Linked DNA regions of Homo sapiens: region 1 is linked to region 2. The links are contacts of gene promoters, found by promoter capture Hi-C in blood cells and fetal thymus (Javierre and others, 2016). All regions are on one chromosome and are shown on one strand. The core of a region is centred on a gene start or on the middle of the fragment in contact, and the rest is flanking DNA. Distances in the headings are between cores, read along the strand shown. Region 1 holds the start of RUBCN (rubicon autophagy regulator). Region 2 holds the start of PAK2 (p21 (RAC1) activated kinase 2).

The links. Contacts are between HindIII fragments. The CHiCAGO score rates a contact against its expected background, and 5 or more counts as called.
Region 1: a contact is called between the fragment with the promoter of RUBCN here and the fragment with the promoter of PAK2 in region 2, in 2 of 17 cell types (M0 macrophages and total B cells). The highest score is 7.1, in M0 macrophages.

The regions. Positions count from the first base shown.
Region 1 is chr3:197,734,303-197,739,950 of GRCh38, reverse strand. It overlaps RUBCN (rubicon autophagy regulator), which reads left to right and starts at 3,047. Exons shown (of 20, transcript NM_014687.4): 1 at 3,047-3,296. The coding sequence starts at 3,232. RefSeq lists silencers at 292-424, 2,784-3,333 and enhancers at 2,922-3,769, 4,700-4,749. The HindIII fragment of the contact is 5,208 bases long and covers 1-3,764 here.
Region 2 is chr3:196,737,106-196,742,788 of GRCh38, reverse strand. PAK2 (p21 (RAC1) activated kinase 2) reads right to left here and starts at 2,932. Exons shown (of 15, transcript NM_002577.4): 1 at 2,632-2,932. RefSeq lists a silencer at 2,352-3,141. The HindIII fragment of the contact is 10,729 bases long and covers 1-5,660 here.

The DNA of each region.
Region 1 (5,648 bases), core at 1,798-4,297, 1.0 Mb before region 2:
CTCATGCCTCAGCCACCCAAGTAGCTGGGATTACAGGCGTGTGCCACTACACCCGACTATTTTTTCTTTGTATTTTTAGTAGAGACAGAGTTTCACTATGTTGGCCAGGCTGGTTTCGAACTCCTGGTGTCAAGTGACCCGCCTGCCTGGGCCTCCCAGTGTTGAGATTACAGGCGTGAGCCACCGCTTCTGGCCCCTAGGATTTCCTGATAAAGCTGATTGCCTTTTTTTTTGAAACGGAGTCTCCCTCTGTCGCCCAGGTCTAGCTCTGTCTTCCAGGCTGGAGTGCAGTGGCGTGATCTCTGCTCACTGCAAGCTCCGCCTCCCGGGTTCATCACGCCATTCTCCTGCCTCAGCCTCCGGAGTAGCTGGGACTACAGGCGCCCGCCACCACGCCCGGCTAATTTTTTGTTGTATTTTTAGTAGAGACGGGGTTTCACCGTGTCAGCCAGGATAGTCTCCATCTCCTGACCTCGTGATCTGCCCGCCTTGACCTCCCAAAGTGCTGGGATTACAGGCATGAGCCACCACGCCCGGCCTTTTTTTTTTTTTCTTTTTTCAGACGAAGTCTTGCTCTTATCGCCCAGGCTGGAGTGCAGTAGCACGATCTCGGCTCACTGCAAGCCCTGCCTCCTGGGTTCAAGCCATTCTCCTGCCTCAGCCTCCTGAGTAGCTGGGATTACAGGCGTCTGCCACCATGCCCGGCTAATTTTTTTGTATTTTTTAGTACGCCTGTAATCCCAGCACTTTGGGAGGCCGAAGCCGGCGGATCACCTGAGGTCGGGAGTTCAAGACCGGCCTGACCAACATGGAGAAACCTTGTCCCTACTAAAAAATACAAAATTAGCCGGGCGTGGTGGCGGATGCCTGTAATCCCAGCTGCTCAGGAGGCTGAGGCAGGAGAATCGCTTGAACCCGATCGCGCCATTGCACTCCAGTCTAGCCAACAAGAGTGAAACTCTGTCTCAAAAATAAATAAATAAATAATATAGTGTTAATTTGGGATTATACTGTATGCCAAAAAATAAAGTTCATACATTTATAGAACTAGAAGTAAGGCCAGGTATGGTGCCTCATGCCTGTAATCCCAATACTTTTTGGGTGACTGAGGCAGGAGGACTGCTTGAGCCCAGGAATTTGAGACCAGCTTAGGCAGCACAGTGAGACCCTGTCTCTACCAAAAATTAAAAAAAAAAAAACAAATTAGCTGGGCATAGTGGCACTGCCTGTGGTCCCAGCTACTTGGGAAGCTGAGGTGAGAGGATCCGCTTGAGGAGGTTGAGGCTGCAGTGAACTGTGGCAGCGCTACTGCACCCCAGCCTGGGTGACAGAGCAAGACTGCGTCTCCAAAAGAGAAGAAAGTCACAGAAGGAAGAGAAATCCCAATGAGTAATATTGCCCCTTTCTTAAAGAAGTATAATCGTTTAGTAGGAAAATGAGAAAGTTTGAAAGAGAGTATTTTTTTAACCTAAATGAAATCATAAATGGCTTCAAGAGGCTCTTTCATTTCATTTTTAATTGCCAAAACACTTTTGTCAAGTTTGAAAATACCTAAAAGCCATATATTATTTTAATATAGAGTCATTAGTTTTTCACGGAGTTATTCTTGATCGCTCTTTCTCCCTCACTTGCCACAGTCAGTCCTTTATAGAGTAGTGCTGATTCTGTTGCCTTCACATTGCTGTAATCTGAGCCTCCTTGTTCTCTTCAACCGCTGCTGTAGTTTAAGCCTGGGTTTGCAAACTAGCAACTCAAGGGCCACCTTCAGCCTACAGACAAGCTGTGTTTGGCCTGTGCAAAGTTGAAAGTTTAAAAAATTTGTTGCCAACGTTTAAAAATTTGGAAGTAGTGCTTAAAAATGCAGATCCTAGCTTCTTTTAAAAAATCAAAATATCATAGCTAGGTGTGGTGGCTCGCACCTGTAGTCCCAGCTATTCAGGAGGCTGAGGAAGGAGGACTGCTTGAGCCCAGGAGTTCCAGGCTGCAGGGAGCTATGATTGCGCCACTGCACCCCAGCCTGGGCGACAGAGAGAGACCCCGTCTTTGAAAAAGAAAAAAGAGAAACCAGAGTATCTGGCAACCCTAGGCCCACGTTTCTTTCAACTGGTTCGCTTCACTTCTTAGCATTACTTGGTTATCCCCCATAAGGATGACCAGTCTCCTATCTAGCCTTCCACCGTTACCTCAATATAGTATTATATCTGCCCCATCTCCTGTCCACATTGTCAAAAGTGGCTTTCTCATCAGATTCGATCAAATCACTTCTTGATTTGCATATGCTTGATTTGCTGATTGTTTTCAGGATAAAATCCAAACTCCTTAAAATGGCATTTCATGATCTGGTTTCCCCACACCAGAATGCCCACACCATGCTGCTGCTCACTCCTTCCCAGCTCTGGCTACCCAGCACCTGCAGTTCCCAAGCCAGCACTTCCTTCCTTGTATCTGCCGTGTTGCTCTCTCCACCTTCTCTTCTTTCTCCTGGCTAACCCGTACTCAGCCTTGAAAACTCTGCGTTGACATCCATCTTCCGAGAGCCCCCAGAAGCCTTTCTCTCCTGCTCTTTTATGATCCCAAAGCAACCTGTGCTCTTGTTTGTGAGCGCTTCATTTAAATGCTCGAGGTCTCCAAACACCACCAGCGGACATTAAGCCAGGGCGGGCTGAGTGGGGTTAATCGTACCGGGATTAGATTAGCGTTATTGCCTAGTCTACATCTCGGACTGAGTTCGGTCCCCAGCGTGTAATGTCACGGGGGTGAATAAGGATACGCCCCGGCACGGATTCCTGAGACCAAGGTCCCCCGCCGCTTGCAAGCCGGCCCAGCCAACCACCGGGTGCGTAGTAATCCACGAGCGCGGCCTGGGATTGGAGGGCGCGGCCTGCGGGAGCGGCCTGGGATTGGAGGGCGCGGCTTGCGGGAGCGGCCTGCCGTTGGAGGGGCGCGGTCTGCGAGCGCGGCCTGGGATTGGAGGACGCGTCCTGCGGGAGCGGCCTAGCCTCGGAGTGCTCGCCGGGGGCTGTAGTCCCCGGAGCCGGAAGTGGGGGTGGCCGGGATAGAAGCCGCAGCCCAGGCGGCGGTCCCTCCCGCTGTCGCCGCCCGGGTGTAGCGCATCACCCGGAGCCCACCGGCCGCAGGTGCCTCCTCCGGCCCCAGGGGGCCCCGGGAGCCCTGAAGGGCGAAGCGGCAGGGACGCCTCTCTTGGGCGAAGAGGCGGCCTCACCGCCCCGGATGCGGCCGGAGGGCGCGGGAATGGAGCTCGGAGGCGGCGAGGAGCGCCTGCCTGAGGAGAGCAGGTGGGCTGGGAGCCGCCGCGGAGTCGGGGCAGCGACAGGCGCCGGAGCCCCGGGAGGCTTGGGAGGGCGCGGGGTCACGGAGAGAAGGGCCGGGCGCGACGAGTCTTGAGGACGACGGCTGCGGAGGACTTGTTTGGGAAGCATTTCGCAGAGGAAGGACGGGCGGGGCGGGGATGGGACGAAGGAACCGGCTTAGGGTGAGGAGGGTGGGTGGGATTTGCGGAGGGCAAGGGCAGCAGAGGAGGGTGAAGCTCAGATCCAAGACTGCTGGAGAGGAGGTGGCAGCTGAGAGACTGGGCGAAGAGGCCAGAGGGGTGCAGTGAGGTTTTACAGGCCAGAGTCTATAGACAGGGGCAGGGCACCACCCGGACTGAAACTTGCCGTGACAGCAAGTGGGGCCAACGCGAAGAGGATGTGAGAATTCCTGGGAGCAGAGGTGAAGCGTTATGAGTGGCCTCGGAAGAAGCTTAGGCAGAGATGAGCATGGGGATGAAGGCGAGGAGAGCCTGGGGAGAAAGTGAGCGAGTGTCATGGCAGTGCGGTGGGGCGGGGACTGCTAATGAGACCAGAAACTCTGCACTTTGTCATTGCCGAATCCCTGTCAGAGAGTGGCAGGACCTCTGTGCCATTTCCTTTTCGTCTTCAAACCTGTCCCTTTTTCCTCACAATGCAAACTAAGCAAGTTCACATTTATTTATATGGAACCATGTCAGAAAGCTCATATCTTCTAGAAATTGGGGGATTTAAAATATAAAAACTACTTTGGACCGGGTGCGGTGCCTCACACCTGTAATTCCAGCACCTTGGGGGAGGCTGAGGCGGGTCGCTTGAGTCCAGGAGTTTGAGACCAGCCTGGGTAACCTAGGGAGATCCCCGTCTCTACAAAAATACAAAAATTAGCTCGGCGTGGTGGTGCTCACCTGTGGTGCCAGCTACTCGGGAGGCTGAGGCGAGAGGATCACTTGAGTCCAATAAGTCGAGGCTGCATTGAGCCGAGATCGCACCACTACACTCCAGCCTGGGTGACAGAGGAAGACCCTGTCTTCAAAAAACAAAAAGCCAAAGAAACCCCGAACTACTTTGACTAAATGATGAATCGGAGTCTGTAGAGATGCCTTCCATATTTAGGGTTTGCTTCATTAATAACTCTGGTCTTAATCTTTTTTAAAGAGGCTGGAATGCTGACAGGCGAGAGCAGGAATGTGGCTTAAGGGAGTCATACTTGACATTTATTATTTTATTTTTATTTTATTTTTTGAGACACAGCCTCACCCTGTCCCCCAGGCTGAGCGCAGTGCCGTGAACACGGCTCACTGCAGCCTCCAACTCTTGGGCTCAAGCGATTATACTAGCTCAGCTTCCCAAGTAGCTGGGGATATAGGTGCCAGCTACCACATCTGGCTACTTTAAAAAACTTTTTTGTAGAGACAGGGTCTCACCATATTGCCCAGGCTGGTCTCTAACTCCTGGGCTCAAGCAATTCTCCCCCGCCACGTCGGCCTCCCAAAGTGCTGGAATTAACAGGTGTGAGCCACCAGGCCTGACCTCACTTGACATTTAGAAACAGTTTCAGATATAATGATGGTCTCAGGAGCAGCTGGGATCCAAAAACTAGAAGCAGAATATTTACCTCTGAGAAAATATCAACAAGGGAAGATTTATGAGATGTTCCTGGGTGAAGACTTGCTATTTTTAAGGGTGACTCTACTTTTATGTGCAAAGTGGCCTGTTGAACAAAACCTGGACTGACAGGACTTTGGGGCTCCTGCCTGAGATCTGAGAATGATTTGTGCTAAGTGAAACTGAACATCTTACTTCCCTTTTCCATGTTTCAGTTTCTGCTTTGCCTATTTGACTATTTATTCTTCCTGCAGATGTCTGTGACGTGCTTCGTGTGAAAGGTCCCATGTAAATTCTAAACACGTTTTAGGATTGTTTTGATTTCCCTCTACCACTTCATGTGAGGGAGGCTGGGTTAGTTATTTTTTTAATGTATGTAACAAATGCTATTTACCACATGCCAGGAATTGTTTTAAGGTATTAAGATATGAATACTGCGTTAACTTCTTTAATCCCTATAACTATTGTATGTGGTCGGTACTACTGTTATTGCTGTGTCACAGATGAGAAAGCTGAGAAATGGACAGGGTAAGTAACTTGCCAAGGTTGTACAGCGAATCCCTGGCAGAACTGGATTCAAACCCAGGCAGTTCGGCACCAGAGTCTGCGCTTTTTTTTTTTTTTCTTTTTTTAGACAGGGTCTCACTATGTTGCCTAGGCTGGTCTCAAACTCCTGGGCTCAAGATATTCTCCAGCCTCGGCCTCTCAAAAGTGCTGAGGTTACAGGCATGA
Region 2 (5,683 bases), core at 1,683-4,182:
CCTGCCACCAAGCCCGGCTAATTTTTTGTTGTATTTTTAGTAGAGACGGGGTTTCACTGTGTTAGCCAGGATGGTCTTGATCTCCTGACCTCGTGATCCGCCCGCCTCGGCCTCCCAAAGTGCTGGGATTACAGGCGTGAGCCACCGCGCCCGGCGAAGAAGACCCAGTTTCAAATTTTAACCAAAAGTGTAAAAGTCAGAAAGCCAAAAGAAATATACTCAAATATTATTATAATAATAATCGATTTTGATGGATAAAAGGAAGAATCTAACAATTCCTACTCATTTTATCCTTGGCTACTTGAAGTTCTTAAATATTAGAAAAGTATAATTGAAAGTTTATCTTTAGCTACCTGAACAAGTTCTAGTCTCTCTTAAAAAGTATAATTGAAATAGAAACTGTTGGTGGTGTGCCGTGGCTCACGCCTATCCCAGCATTTTGGGAGGCTGAGGCGGGCAGATGACCTGAGGTCGGGAGTTCGAGACCAGCCTAACCAACACGGTGAAACCCCATCTCTACTAAAAATACAAAATTAGCCGCGCGTGGTGGCGCGTGCCTGTAATCCCAGCTACTCAGCAGGCTGAGACAGGAGAATCGCTTGAACCCAGGAGGCGGAGGTTGCGGTGATCGCACCATTGCACTCCAGCCTGGGCAACTGAAACTCCGTCTCAAAAAAAAAAAAAAAAAAGAAATATTAATTGTTAACCGCATCTACTTGGGAACCTGTCTATCATAAAGATCAGAGAGCCCTATCGCCTGTATACTCGAACTATAAACTTAATTTTGAATTTGGGTTTGCAAGGTTAGTATTAAATAGCACGGAGTCCAGAATAGTATCTCTCTCTGAATGAGAGTAAACCATAAACCAAGGCCCTAAGGGAAGTGAAATACCCAGGAACTCTTCCTTCATAAAAATATCTGCTGATTAGAAGAAACTGGCAGAGAAGCCAACATCTACAGACCAAGTTTCAAACTCCAACAAAACTCCAACCTTTCTACACCTTAATCCCTCAGGCCAATAAAACATCCATTAAGTTAAGGACAACTGATACTACTATTTAAGAAATGATGACAGTATTGAAGCTGAGTATTGGAGCCACTTTTTTCAGAGCCTTGCTGGAGGGAAAGGTAACAATGGGCTACTTAGTGAAAACACAAAATACACTGAATTTAGGTCAACCTGTTACCAAATCGGAAAGTTGGTTTAAGACCTACATCTATTACAGGTTCACTTTCCGTAATAAGTGTCAATCAATGTGCTTGGCTAATAAGTAGCTCGAAAGATTTAATAGCCGAGGATGACACAGTGAAAAAGTTGCCTGAAATCCATACTCCTAACAGAACATGAAAAAGGCTCTTCATATATACACGAGCATGAGTGGGCTTTACAGAAGCCACAGACCTTCTGGCAAAGTTGACAAGTTTTAACCTGCTTTAAAAATTACTATTCACTGCCTTCATCCCAATGTAACTTTACTGAGTGTTATTCTATTGGACAACCCTACAAAAACAAAATCCCCAGAGCAAATTCTTGTACATTTCAATATCCTGCCTACTTATAAGAGCGGAAGAGTCGAACACAGCAGGGGAAAAAACGTGACGTGCACAACCTTGATCCAAAACACAGCTCTTCGTAGTTTAATTTTAGGCCTAACCATTTTGTCTTTTTATAAAGGTTAAAAAAGAAAACAAAGAAAGGACACATCGCCTGTAACGCAGAAGTGAGATAATGATATCAACCGGAGTTCGTTATTTATCAAGGGACAACAAATCACGCTCACACTGCCCAGGGAGAGTACTACTAAAATTAAGATACAAGGATGGGTACAACCTCACACCCACTGACGATGACACGCTTCTGTTCTTGGATGACTTATCTTTAAAGAATTAGTTAAAAGGTTGAGTGGCAACGTTTTGTGTTTGTGCGTGCGTGTGTTTCCAAGAGAGCCAAACATGGTGAAAAACCAATCTTAACTTCACCTAAGTTATCTAAAGAAGCAAATTTCACCCCTAGGCTGAAGCTCAAACAGGAGCGAGGAGAAGCTCCGAAAGATCAGTTCGTAAGCGGTGGCCCTCAAGCGCCCGGGACGCTCTACGTTTTTACCAATGTGGAATGTGGAAAAGAGGTTACAGGCTGGAGCTGAGAAAACAGTCAAGCTACTCGCGACAATATTCCTGAGCAGTGAAACGGGTGAACAGAGAGCGAGCAAGCAGGGGCTGAGAATCAGTGAGAGGAAAAATCAAGGAACAAAACCGGAGAGTCTGGTCCAGCATTAAGAAAACGGAGCAAAGGAAGAGGGTGAAACGCGAGGGGAGGGAAGACCGAGAGTCGGCAGAGACCGTGGTGCCGCGAGGTTCAGAGCAGGGCTGGGTCCAGGAAGAGTCAGACCTCCGCAGCCCAGCGAGCTTCCCATTTCTGGCTAAAGCCAGCGAAGAAAACGGCCCTGGGGAGCAGACAATGAGCCACCGCCCCAGGAGCTGCGGCTCCCAGCACGCAGGTGGCGGCTCCCCGGCCCCGCGCGGGGCAGGTCGGCCGTCCCGGGCCGCTCCCGCCCGCCAGGCCACGGAGAAGGAAGGAGGAGGAAGAGACCCGGCCTGCGTCCCGCGCCGGCCGGCCTGTGTGCACTTACCCCGGGCAAGGCAAGGTCCCCGCCCCAGCGAGGCGCCTCGGTCAGAGCTCCCGGCGGGCTGCGGAGCCGCCCCGGGCTAGCGCGCGGTGCGGGGAGGGGAGGGGAGGGAAGGGGAAGCGGGGCGGGAAGAGACGCCGCGCTGGAGCAGCCGCTGCTACCGCTAGGCCCAGCGGCGGCGGAGTCCTGCGCACGCCAGGGAGGGGAGGGGAGGGAGCCTTCGGCAATGGCGACGGCCCGGGCCGGAGGGGAAGCGGAACAACCGCCGCCGCTGCGCGTGGCCACAACCCTGGGGGAGGAAGACGGCGGGGAGCGGGGCGGGGCGGGGCCAGAACCCAGAACCCCTCCCGCCCCGAAGCCGGAGCTCCCCGGGGCGGAGACGAGCGCCACCTCCCATGGGCAGGCCCGCGCGGGGGCCGCTGGGAGTAGTAGTTCGGTGATAGACGTTGCTTTTATTCCTTGGGTAGTCTTTGTATTGAGAGGAGCAGCCAGTCCCTCATTTAATTCAGCATTGTCTCCAAGCAGGTCTCTGCCGACGGAAGACGCTGACAGACGATTGCTGTTATACACATCTGCTCCGCGACATTTGTTTCTGGGAATTCATCCGTTATCCATTTTGCTTTTTTGCTTACAAATTCTTAACTAAAATTTTGCTGCTAAATTAAGTATCACCTCCTTGCAAATTAAGACTTCCCTATTTTATCCACGGAGGAGTTCATCAATGTTTCACTTATTCTACAAATATTTGAGTGTCTGATATGGACTAGACACTGTTAAGCATCAGAAATACAAGGGTGGTTCAGGTGCGGTGGCTCACGCCTGTAATCCCAGCACTTTGGGAGGCTGAGGCAGGCGGATCACCTGAGGTCGGGAGTTCGAGACCAGCCTGGCCAACACGATGAAACCCCGTTTCTACTAAAAATACAAAAATTAGCTGGGCATGGTGGCACGCATCTGTAGTCCCAGCTACTCGGGAGACTAAGGCAGGAGAATCGCTTGAACCCAGGAGGAGGAGGCTGCAGTGAGCCAAGATCGGGCCACTGCACTTCAGCGTGACAGAGTCGTCATGCCTCAAAAACAAAACAAAAAACACAAAAGAAATGCAAGGGTGAACACGATTCACCAAGCCTTTGTGGAGCTTATATGAGGACGCAGTAATTAAAGTAGTCACACCTGGTATAAGAAAAAACTTGGCGAGGTTACTTTGGATAGGGTGGTCGGAGAAGGCCTCGTTAAGGAGGTGACACTTAAGGCAAGAACAGAAAGAGACAGCAATAAGAAGCACCCAGAGAAAAGCAATACAGGCAGGAGAAGAAAGAAAAGGGCTTGCTACGGTCAGTTAAGAAGGCCTGTGTAGCTGGGGCCTAGAACAAGAAGGCGGTACTATTAAGAAAACACTACAGCAGACAAGATTCAGGTCATGAAAGATCCTGAATGCCATGGTAAAAAGTCTATATTACAAAAAACCATTAAAAGGCTTTTTTAAGCAGGAAAGCGATGTTACCTGGCTTACACTTTAAGATCACTAGACTGCAATGTGGATAATGGAGTATAGAGATGCAAGAATAGAAGGGAAATAAAGTAGGAAGGCAGTGGAAAGAAAGAGGAATTGTGCTTCTCTATCAATGTAGAGCAAAAAACTCAATTGATGCAGTGGGTACAGGAGAGAAAGGAATCAAGGAGCAACATGGCACAGTAAGAGATAACCTGAAAAATGCTCTGATTATTAAACACACAGAAACACTGGATAAATAAGACATCCTTTCAAAGGCATAACTTGCAAGAATGAAAATAGAATGTTTCTGACAGTCTTCCAAATTTCACACTCAACCTGAAGAAGGGGCAGGACACCAGAGTGGTAAGCAGGGCAGTGAAGCCATGGTTGTGTTGAGGGCACCTACTTATCTCAGAAATCTCTAGAGTTTTAATAGGTGCACAGGAAACTAAAGACAAGGACTTGGGCCTATACAAGAAGTCAGGACTGTGATCCTGCATAGGACTGGAAATTCAAGGCGCTATACCCTCCAAGAACAGACTGGGGGGAAAAAAAACCCTATGCTAGCCCAGGGAGACACACAGGACATTTGTTTACTTTGGCCTGCAGTGGGCTTGCAGGGCAGAAGAAAATTTTCCCTTTAGAATTAATAACCCTTTAGAATTTTCCCTCACTAAGGTTTTAAAGTTCAAATTTGTCAAGAAAGTGGTCCCAGGCTGGAGTTCTGGGGGGCCTGGAAGAAACAAATACAAATCCTGACTGCACAGGTGTACCCTCAACCTCGGTCTCAAAGGATTTCACAGATAAACAGGATTTCCGAAGCCAAACATGAGCACCCGAAATACAATACACCTGAGGAAATAAGCAGCGATGAGTGAGTCAATAGAAACTACAAAGAACATAATGAAACCCACACAGACTTTAGCTGCTGGAATTGATGGCTACAGAATATACAGTACGCCTATTTAAATGATTAAAGAAAGTAAGACAGGAGCTAGAAAACACGAGCAAGAAACAAGATGCTTTTTTTTTTTAACGACCAAACAGCTTTGAAAATGAAATAAGTAGGCCAGGCGCGGTGGCTCACACCTGTAATCCCAGCAGTTTGGGAGGCCGAGGTGGGCAGATCACCCGAGGTCAGGAGTTCGAGACCAGCCTGGCCAACATGGTGAAACCCCAGTCTCTACTAAAAATGCAAAAATTAGCCAGGCGTGGTGGTGGGCACCTGTAGTCCCACCTACTCAGGAGGCTGAGGCAGGAGAATCACTTGAACCTGGGAGGTGGAGGTTGCAGTAAGCCAAGAACATGCCATTGCACTCCAGCCTGGGCAACAAGAGCAAAACTCCGTCTCAAAACAAAAACAACAACAACAAAAGAATTAAGTAGAATTTCTAGAAACAAAGAATAACTGAAACCAAAGCCAATGTTTGGTTAAATAGCAGATTACACACAATTGAAGAGAAAATTAGTAAACTGGAAGACAGACCAAAAGAAATTACTGAGAACAGCCTAGAGACAGGAAAAATGAAAGCAAGCTTAAGAGACATGGGGATAGATTGT